Linked DNA regions of Homo sapiens: region 1 is linked to region 2. The links are contacts of gene promoters, found by promoter capture Hi-C in human tissues and cell types (Jung and others, 2019). All regions are on one chromosome and are shown on one strand. Each heading gives the region's core, a stretch centred on a gene start or on the middle of the fragment in contact. The rest is flanking DNA. Distances are from core to core; before and after follow the strand shown. Region 1 overlaps BRD3 (bromodomain containing 3). Region 2 holds the start of MED22 (mediator complex subunit 22).

Evidence for each region. Contacts are between HindIII fragments. The study calls those that stand out against the background at their distance.
Region 1: a contact is called between a fragment that was not itself captured here and the fragment with the promoter of MED22 in region 2, in 1 of the 25 tissues and cell types used here (dorsolateral prefrontal cortex).

The regions. Positions count from the first base shown.
Region 1 is chr9:134,061,355-134,065,342 of GRCh38, reverse strand. All of the region lies in intron 1 of BRD3 (bromodomain containing 3), which reads left to right. Among named protein-coding and RNA genes, the nearest start is that of BRD3, 4.7 kb to the left of the region's middle. RefSeq lists an enhancer at 1,843-2,754. The HindIII fragment of the contact is 7,576 bases long and covers 1-3,988 here.
Region 2 is chr9:133,346,197-133,350,322 of GRCh38, reverse strand. MED22 (mediator complex subunit 22) reads left to right here and starts at 2,192. Exons shown (of 5, transcript NM_133640.5): 1 at 2,192-2,401; 2 at 3,623-3,783. The coding sequence starts at 3,661. RPL7A (ribosomal protein L7a) reads right to left here and starts at 2,105. Exons shown (of 8, transcript NM_000972.3): 1 at 2,077-2,105; 2 at 1,281-1,401; 3 at 623-772; 4 at 271-411; 5 at 4-83. The coding sequence starts at 2,079. SNORD24 (small nucleolar RNA, C/D box 24) reads right to left here and starts at 927; the gene lies at 853-927. It overlaps SNORD36B (small nucleolar RNA, C/D box 36B), which reads right to left and starts at 229; the gene lies at 159-229. RefSeq lists enhancers at 1,684-2,153, 2,015-2,309, 3,614-4,115, 4,116-4,126. The HindIII fragment of the contact is 21,529 bases long and covers 1-4,126 here.

The DNA of each region.
Region 1 (3,988 bases), core at 1,411-3,910, 710 kb before region 2:
TAGCAATTCTCCTGCTTCAGCCTCCCAAGTAGCTGGGATTACAGGCGTCCGCCACCACGCCCAGCTAATTTTTTGTATTTTTAGTAGAGACAGGGTTTCACTGTGTTGGACAGGCTGGTCTCGAACTCCTCACCTCGTGATCCACCTGCCTTGGCCTCCCAAAGTGCTGGGATTACAGGCATGAGCCACCGTGCCTAGCCAGCAGGTCCCTTATATCACGAAGCCAGTATCTGGTTGAAGCTAGAAGGTAACTGGATGAATCATGGTAGAATGCAAGGCTTCTTGCCGTAAAAGGTTTTGGAACTTGCGGGTCTGCCTTGGGCCTTCCCGACCCCTGTGGCTCCGCCCCCTTGTTGGAGCAGAAGAGATGCACAGGTAGCAAAGCATGATGGGGTGCCAGGTGCATTTGGGTCAGCGTTTGCCAAGAATGGCCTTGCTCCTGTGTTTTTGTTGGTACTGCCACCTTGTAGAGGTGCCCAGCTGGTGGCGGAGCATAGGGTTTTCTTTGCCTATTCTCCTTCCTGTGAAATCATGGGCACAGACATCATGGGCCCCTGTGCCCGGGCCTCCCTGCTCTGGTTCCTGGGCTCCTGCCATCTGAGAGGCTTGAGGGCTTGCTTATTTGTTTGTTTGTTTGTATTTTTAGTAGAGATGGCGTTTCACCATGTTGGCCAGGCTGGTCTCAAACTCTTGGCCGTGAGTGACCCACCCGTCTCTGCCTCCTGAAGTGCTGGGATTACAAGCGTGAGCCACCATGCTCGGCCAAGATGCTTGAGAGCTCATTTATTTATTTACTTATTTTGAGACAGAGTATCACTCTGTTGCCCAGGCTGGTGTGTAATGGCATGATTTCCCTTCACTGCAACCTCCACCTCCTGGGTTCAAGCAATTCTCCCTGGCTCAGCCTGCCAAGTAGCTGGGATTACAGGTGCCCGCCACCACGCCTGGCTATTTTTTTTAATTTTTTTTAATTTTTTAGTAAAGATGGGGTTTCGCCATGTTGGCCGGGCTGGTCTTGAACTCCTGACCTCAGGTGATCCACCCATCTCAGCCTCCCAAAGTGCTGAGATTACAGGTGTGAGCCACCATGCCTGACCGAGAGCTCTTTTAAAGAGAAAGTGTCACTTTGGGCCATTCACCTGTTGGTGGTTTAAATTGTAAGTCTTCTGGCCACTCCTGATTGAGCTCGCAGTGGAGCCAGGACCTGTGCGTGTGGCTGGAGGCTCGGACCCTGTTGTGTCCGTGCTGTTGGCTGTCTGCGTCTCGCACCAGTCTGTGGCTGTTCCCTGAGAGTCAGTTCGCAGGCTGCCTCCTCACAGGGCCTTCGGAGCCTGGTGTTGGGAAGATGGGGCGTGGAACATGCCCCCGCCCCCCTCCTTGCCGCAGGCCCCCAAGGTACTGAGTTCGTCAGAAGTTAATCCGGTATTGTGGGAGACAACTTTTCCAGCCACTTGGAAAAGTGTCCCGCTGAGGGTGCAGTGATGTTCAGGAGTCGCCGGCTGGATCTTTCTGAGTGTGGCTTGATAACCAGCTGCAGCATTTTGCAAAGCACCCAGTGGACTCGGGTGTGATCTGCAGAGGCGGCTGCTGGCCAGGCCTGGAGTCTGGGGCAGAGGGAGTGCCCTCAGTGCACCTGTGAGGACCTGGGACTAAGAGTCGGTACCTGGGAGCTGTGGGACTCTGGGGCGGGACGGCCTTAGCCTCCGTGTGAGCACTGACCGAGATGAGGCACAGATGCATCTGTGTGAGGTGCCCGGCCCCTGCAGGAGTGCTGAGTATTGTAGCTATAACCTGTCATGTGGCAGAAGGAAGAATCTACTATAAGCGGCTGAGAGGATGCCCTCCCTGTGCCATGCGTCACTGGAGCCTTGGCCTGACAATCCCACAAGGAGCAAAATGTGCAAAGGGGCAGCTGTGTGAGCCTGCGGGTCCAGGGTGCCACCCGCCCCCATCTGCCCACACCACAGGACAGAGCCCTGGGTATGCTGACCAGGCCCTCGCTGGTACCAGGGGCTGGGTAGGAGGCAAGGGTCAAGCACGGTGGCTCCGTGGGCTGTGGACTCACAGACAGATGTGCTGCATGCCCACGCTTTGCTCTTAGCTCTGCCTCCGGTCTGTCCCGGCAACAGGCCTGGGGGCGTCCTGCAGTCCTCGGCATTTGTGGTTGGGGGTGAGCAGAGAACATAGACGAAATAACCAAGGGGATGGTCTGAGAGCTGCGGCCCTGCTGGCCCCTTGTCCTGGCTCGGCATGGCTGAGTGGGACAGCAGTGAGGCCAGGCCTGTCTCCTGGGGCCGGGGTGTTTTGTGAGTTTGGTTCTTGTCAGGCCGGCTGAGAGGAGATGGAGCAGACAGATGGATGCTAGGTGGGCCTGCCGCAGCTTTGTTTTAGGAAGTGCGGAGCACCAGGGCCTGACCCTGAGGCTGTGTCCCTCTAAGAGCACGGTGTCTCCTTCCCTCTAAAGGGCCAGGTGCTGTCCTCACTCACTGCCCCTCTGAAGAGAGTCCCCTGCCTGAGTCGTGGCTCTCCTGCCCTTCCCAGACCCGTGGGAGACCCTGACTACGTGGCGGTGGCCTGGGGTTGGGAGGGCCTGACCAGTGTCTGTGGGGCCAACTTCCTCGTTCCCAGCATGTGTGGAGGGTCGGGCCTCCTCACGCGCCTCATGAGGGTCCCACGGGGGTAGAGCGTCCTTTGAGTCCTCTCTATTCGAGGAGTGGGTAGAGAGGCGGGTAGGGACGGAGCTTGGAAGAGGTGACGGGTTGTGGCCAGAAGGCTGTGGGGGCGTCATGGCAGGAAGGGAAACCTTCAGAGAGGCCGCTCACCCAGGGCCGTGGGGCCATGGAGAAGCACAGGCCCTGGGTTCAGAAAGCAGGAGGCATATGAGGTCTTAGGTCTAGAAGGCACTGGTGGGTGCAGAGTGGGGAGAACTGTGGGGTGCAGGGGACAGTCACGGGAGAGGCAGCGCTGGCAGCTGCACCTGCCCAGCGTGTCTGGGGCCATGCCCCAGGATAGCCCCACCAGTCTGCTGAAGCGCCCCGGGACAGGGCTGGGCCTGTAGAGCCGGGCCCTCCAGGCGGCCAGGCAGCTGCAGGAGAGCAGGTGCGCTGTGCATGGGGGGCTCACAGCACTGGGCAGATTCCCCTGGGGAGTAGGCGCCAGGGCTGGCCGTGCCTGCTTGGGTGGGGCCCACGATGCCCAGCTGCCCTCCCCAGGGCTCCTCCAGGGCTACAGGGGGCCCCCAACCCCCGACTTCTCCCCTGGCTCCATAGAAGGAAGCAGTTGGCTCCGTCTGTCACTGAAGGCAGCCCTGCCCTGACAGATCCAGTTTCCCGAGTCCTGGAGGGTGGCCGCTGGTCACCACGTGGGCTGGGGAGGCCCCTCTGGCCGCCTGGGGACAGGTGCTAGGTTGGCCGGGTTAGATGGGGCTGTGGGGGCAGCAGGCTGGGATCCCTTCTCACAGACTCAGCTCCCTCCTGCCACAGCCGATCACAGCACTGCTCCCAGCATTATCCCGAGAATTCTGGGGCTGTGGGGTGTTGGCGGTGAGTCTGGCATGGATGTCCAGCTTTGTTCAAGCTGGCTCTGGCCTTCTCTGCCTGGGCGACGTTGTGCCCCTTCACCTCTGAGCGTCCCCTCCACTTATGGAAGATGGGGCTCATCTGACCCCCACTGACGCAGGACAGAGTCCAGGAGACGGGCTGGAGTGCCCCAGTGGGGGCCATCCAGTCAGGGACACAGGTACAGAGGCCCAGAGCTATGGAAATTCCAGGGCTGGAGACCCATGGGGAATGGGGAGCCCCTGGGAAAGGCCTCCCCTAGCTTCCTCCAGCACCCCCACCCTTGGTTCCAGTGCTCCTGTCTCCCACCCTTTAGCTGGCAGGTCTGGTTGAGCCCCTGCAGAGCTATGTAGCCCTGCCCCTCCCTGCCACTGCTCCTCCAGACTCATGCTATAGCTGGAATGGCCTTGGTAAGCTGTCCTCCCAACCCT
Region 2 (4,126 bases), core at 943-3,442:
CACCTCGATGGGATCCACGTCGTGTGCAATCACCACCAGCTGAGCTTTCTTGTTCTCCACCAAGGTGGTGACGGTGTTAACTCCTAGAACACACAACCACTTTGTGAGCACTCACAGGGCCTGCTCTAGTCACAAGAAGCTGCTGGGCTCAGCTGCTGACTCAGTGTTAAAAAGCTCGGTTTTACTCTTCACAGTAATTTCAGGCCAAGAAATTTTACATCACTGCAACAGCCCGCCCCCAGTGTTCACCCTAAGGTGGGGCCTACTCACCTGCTCGAAGGACAGGTGGTCTCTTCGTTGGGACGTCCCCTTTGCCAGCAGCCTTCTTCTCGGCCCGGGCCAACAGTCTCTGCTTCTTCTCTTGCTTTGTCTCTGGTCTGTACTTGTGGGCCAGCTTAAGCAGCTGAGTAGCTGGAAAAACACTCTTCAGTTTAGGCTTGGAGTCAAGGTTCTAATCCTTGTCACTTAACACTTAATAACAAATGCTGGACTGCGGTCCTGCTATATGACTATAATTTAATGACAACTGCAGTTCAAGAAGCCTAAGACCATCCCCCTCATGTTCTGGATGAAATAAGGAATCCTTGCCTGAGAAACTCCTTTCCACGCCACAGAACCTCACCTGTTTGGCGGTCCAGGGCCTGGGTGAACTGGTTAATCGCAGGAGGCACTTTCAGCCGCTTATAGAGGATGGCTCTCTGCCGCTGCAACCTGATATAGCGGGGCCATTTCACAAAGCGGGTGAGGTCTCTTTTGGGCTGGATGTCCTGTCCTGAGAAGTAAAGGGTGACACCGAGTGAGGCTCAAATTCCATGTCAAGTTCATGTCTGGGGCCACTAGGAAGGGTGTTGGTGCATCAGCGATCTTGGTGGTTTAAAATGTCATCACCATCTCTCAGATAGCAAATATTCTTTTACATCATCTGCACACAAACACCTGAGAACAAAGAGCACGATGCTTTTCCTCATCTAACAAGAAGCCAAGGTGCCACGAAGTACAGCAGAATTGCAGTCCTAGTACCTCGCTGCGACACTGCTACTGTACTTGTTTCCAGATGGCTAAGCTGAATTCAAGGCCACTACCATATTGAGCTGAATGCTCGCTCAGCAACTCCCAATGAAAGCAAGAAGCATGTATCATTGCCCCCGTCTCTAAGAGACACAAATTAAGGACTGCGACCACTTTACACCCACTAAAACCTACAAGATACAACACAACCCAATTACCACCTTCCCTTGAGAAAAACATAGACCGTTTTCATTCTGCCGTTTGTTACTTACCAATGCCAAAATTCTTAGGCCTTTTCTCAAACAGGGGATTCACCACTTTCTTAGCCTCCTGCTTCTTCACGACAGCTGGGGCCGGAGCCACCTTCTTTCCCTTGGCCTTCTTTCCTTTCGGCTGGGCAGAAAGAAAACGTCAGTTAAACCGCCGCCTCCACTCGCTTCGTCGGGGGTAGGGCTCAGGCTGGCTCCTCCAAAACAAGGGACGCTGACAGCACCTGCCTGAACTAAGCTGGCGAGCAGCTTTCTGCAACCCCCCAGCACCACCCCTCGACAGGAGCATCTCACATTCAGCCGCACAAGCATGCAGCCCCGGGAACCCCGAGTGGCCAGAGCAAGGCTAAGCCCGAGACCACGCTCTCTTCGCGTCGCCCACCCAGGAGACACCCCGGACTCATGACTCCTCTGAGTCGCGGCCCCACAGGCTCTAGAAGCAACAGGGGCGGGCTCAGAACTCGTCGCTCACAAGGCCTCTGGAGCGGCCCCCAGCAAGCCCGAGAGACGCTAGGGCTCCGAGCCCCGCACTGCGGTGCTCCAGGCCTGCGACACCCAGCCCTGCGACACCGGGAACAACGCATTCCGCTCTCGGCCGCCCGGGGCTCTAGTCCATCTCAATGTCTCCGTGCCACACCAAGTGGGGCTCTAATCCACCTCGGTGTCTCCGTGCCACACCGAGTGGGGCTCTCCTAGCGCCAGGAGGAGCAGGAGGCCCTCCGAGGCCGCGCCTGGAGGAGGATGGCAGCGGATACAGCCGGAACCTGGCTATAGTGCCACGGAACTACAGCTCACTCACCATCTTGGGCGGCGGGAGGAGAGAGAAAGGAAAGGGAATTGTGGGTAATATGTATGCGGCCTCGGAGATCGCGAGAGTTGATACCGGCACGGGATTTCGGATTTAAAGCAACAGCATTCCTATAAAGCTAAAAATCGAGGCGGGGCCGAGAGGCTGCGGCGGCTGACTAGGTTTTCGGACCGCGGCGCGGCGGGGAAGAGAGACTGCGGCGGGAGGGCCAGGCCGTGGGAGAGACGCGGGAAAGTGCGGGTCGCAGAGGCACTTGACCACCCCGCCCTAGGCCGACCCGGCGGACGCGGCGTCTGGTGTGCGGGCGCTGGGGCGGGTATGAGGGTGTGGTGGGGGGTGGGGATGGAGGGGGGGTGGGTGTGTGGGCGGGAGTGGGGGTGGGTGGGTGCGTAGGCGCTGGGGTCGGAGATCCCCTTTCCTGCGTGTGACTTATTTCCCACACCCCGCCAAAAATGGGCACAAACAATGCGAGTGCGTCCAGGAGTCCGCTCGGTCGTGCGCCAGACTCCGAACCTAGGGGGCCCCGGGCCCTCCCTGAGCACCGCGCGCAAAGGCCCGGCCCCAGGGCCAGGCAACTCCAGCGCCGAGGCCGTCCAGTGCGGCTGGAGGGCAGAGGCCGAGAGGCGCGGCGCGGAACTTGAGCCCCTTGTCCCGGCGCACCGGGGAACCATGAGGGATGTTAAGCGAGGGAGTGGAATTACCCCCCTTTTTTTTTTCTTTTGGAGACGTAGTCTCCCCCTGTCGCCCAGGCTGGAGTGCAGTGGCGCGATCTCGGCTCACTGCGACCTGTGCTTCCCGGGTTCAAGCGATTCTCCTGCCTCAGCCTCCCGAGTAGCTGGGATTACAGGCGCCTGCCATCACGCCCGGCTAATTTTTGTATTTTTAGTAGAGTTGGGGTTTCACCATGTTGGTCAGGCTAGTCTCAAACTCCTGACCTCAGGTGATCCCTGCCTCGGCCTCCCAAAGTGCTGGGATTACAGGCGTGAGCCACCGCGCCCGGTTGGAATGACCACTTTTTAGGACCTCTTCCCTGCCGCGCAGAGACTGGAGGGAGCGGGGCCCGCAGTGCAGGGATGAGGTCTGGAGCGGGGCAGCCTGAGTGGGAGTGGAAGGAAAGCGTGGATGTAGGCGGTGCAGAGGGGTCGAATTGGAAGGACTCTTCGGATGGGAGGGCGTGGCGAAGGTGGCGGCGGGCTAAGAAGTTAAGCCAAGGGCTGGGGACGGGGAGCTGGTGTTGAGTTTGCAGGGCTCCCTGGGACACGCTGTGGGCCTGGACGTGAAGTCTGGACTGGAGCCCTGGACAGGGCTTGGAGGGCTGGCCAGGAGTTCCAGGATGAGCTTGCTCTGGCAAAGGCGGGGCCAGTCCTGGCACCCCCTGCGGTGTCTGCTGATGGAATGAGTTCATCTGTGTTTCAGTGATTGACTTTATTTGGCAGAAAGGGAATCCCCAGAAATCTGCGTGTTCTGCTAAGGTTGGGGCATAGAGGGTGGCTGGGGTAGACTCTGCCTGCACTCAGAGGTCTGTGCTGCACTCTAGGTCCCAGGTCTCCCCGCTGCGCTGCTTGAGGCTCGGCCATGGCCCAGCAGAGAGCCCTGCCCCAGAGCAAGGAGACGCTGCTGCAGTCCTACAACAAGCGGCTGAAGGACGACATTAAGTCCATCATGGACAACTTCACCGAGATCATCAAGACCGCCAAGGTGGGGGTGGGGTGGCCCACCAAGGGGAGCAGAGTCTGAGAAGGGGTGGAGACAGGAGAGGCCAGGGGCTGAGCAGCGCGAGTGAATAGTGTTCTAGGCAGGAAGCACCCAGTGCACAGGGAGCTGGTCAGTAGATAAGCAAACCAAATAATGGCACGTCCAGCCCTTACTAACAGTATGGATTTGGATGGAGATTTCACTTTTTAGTGCCTCAGTTTCTCCTGCATGGTGGGGTCCTTGTGATGACTGGTGAGTTTATCTGTGTAAAACAGTTACCTCGGGGCCTGGCACACAGCCAATGAGCAGGAGAAAAGCAGACTGAGGGGAGAAGTGGGGGGGGGCC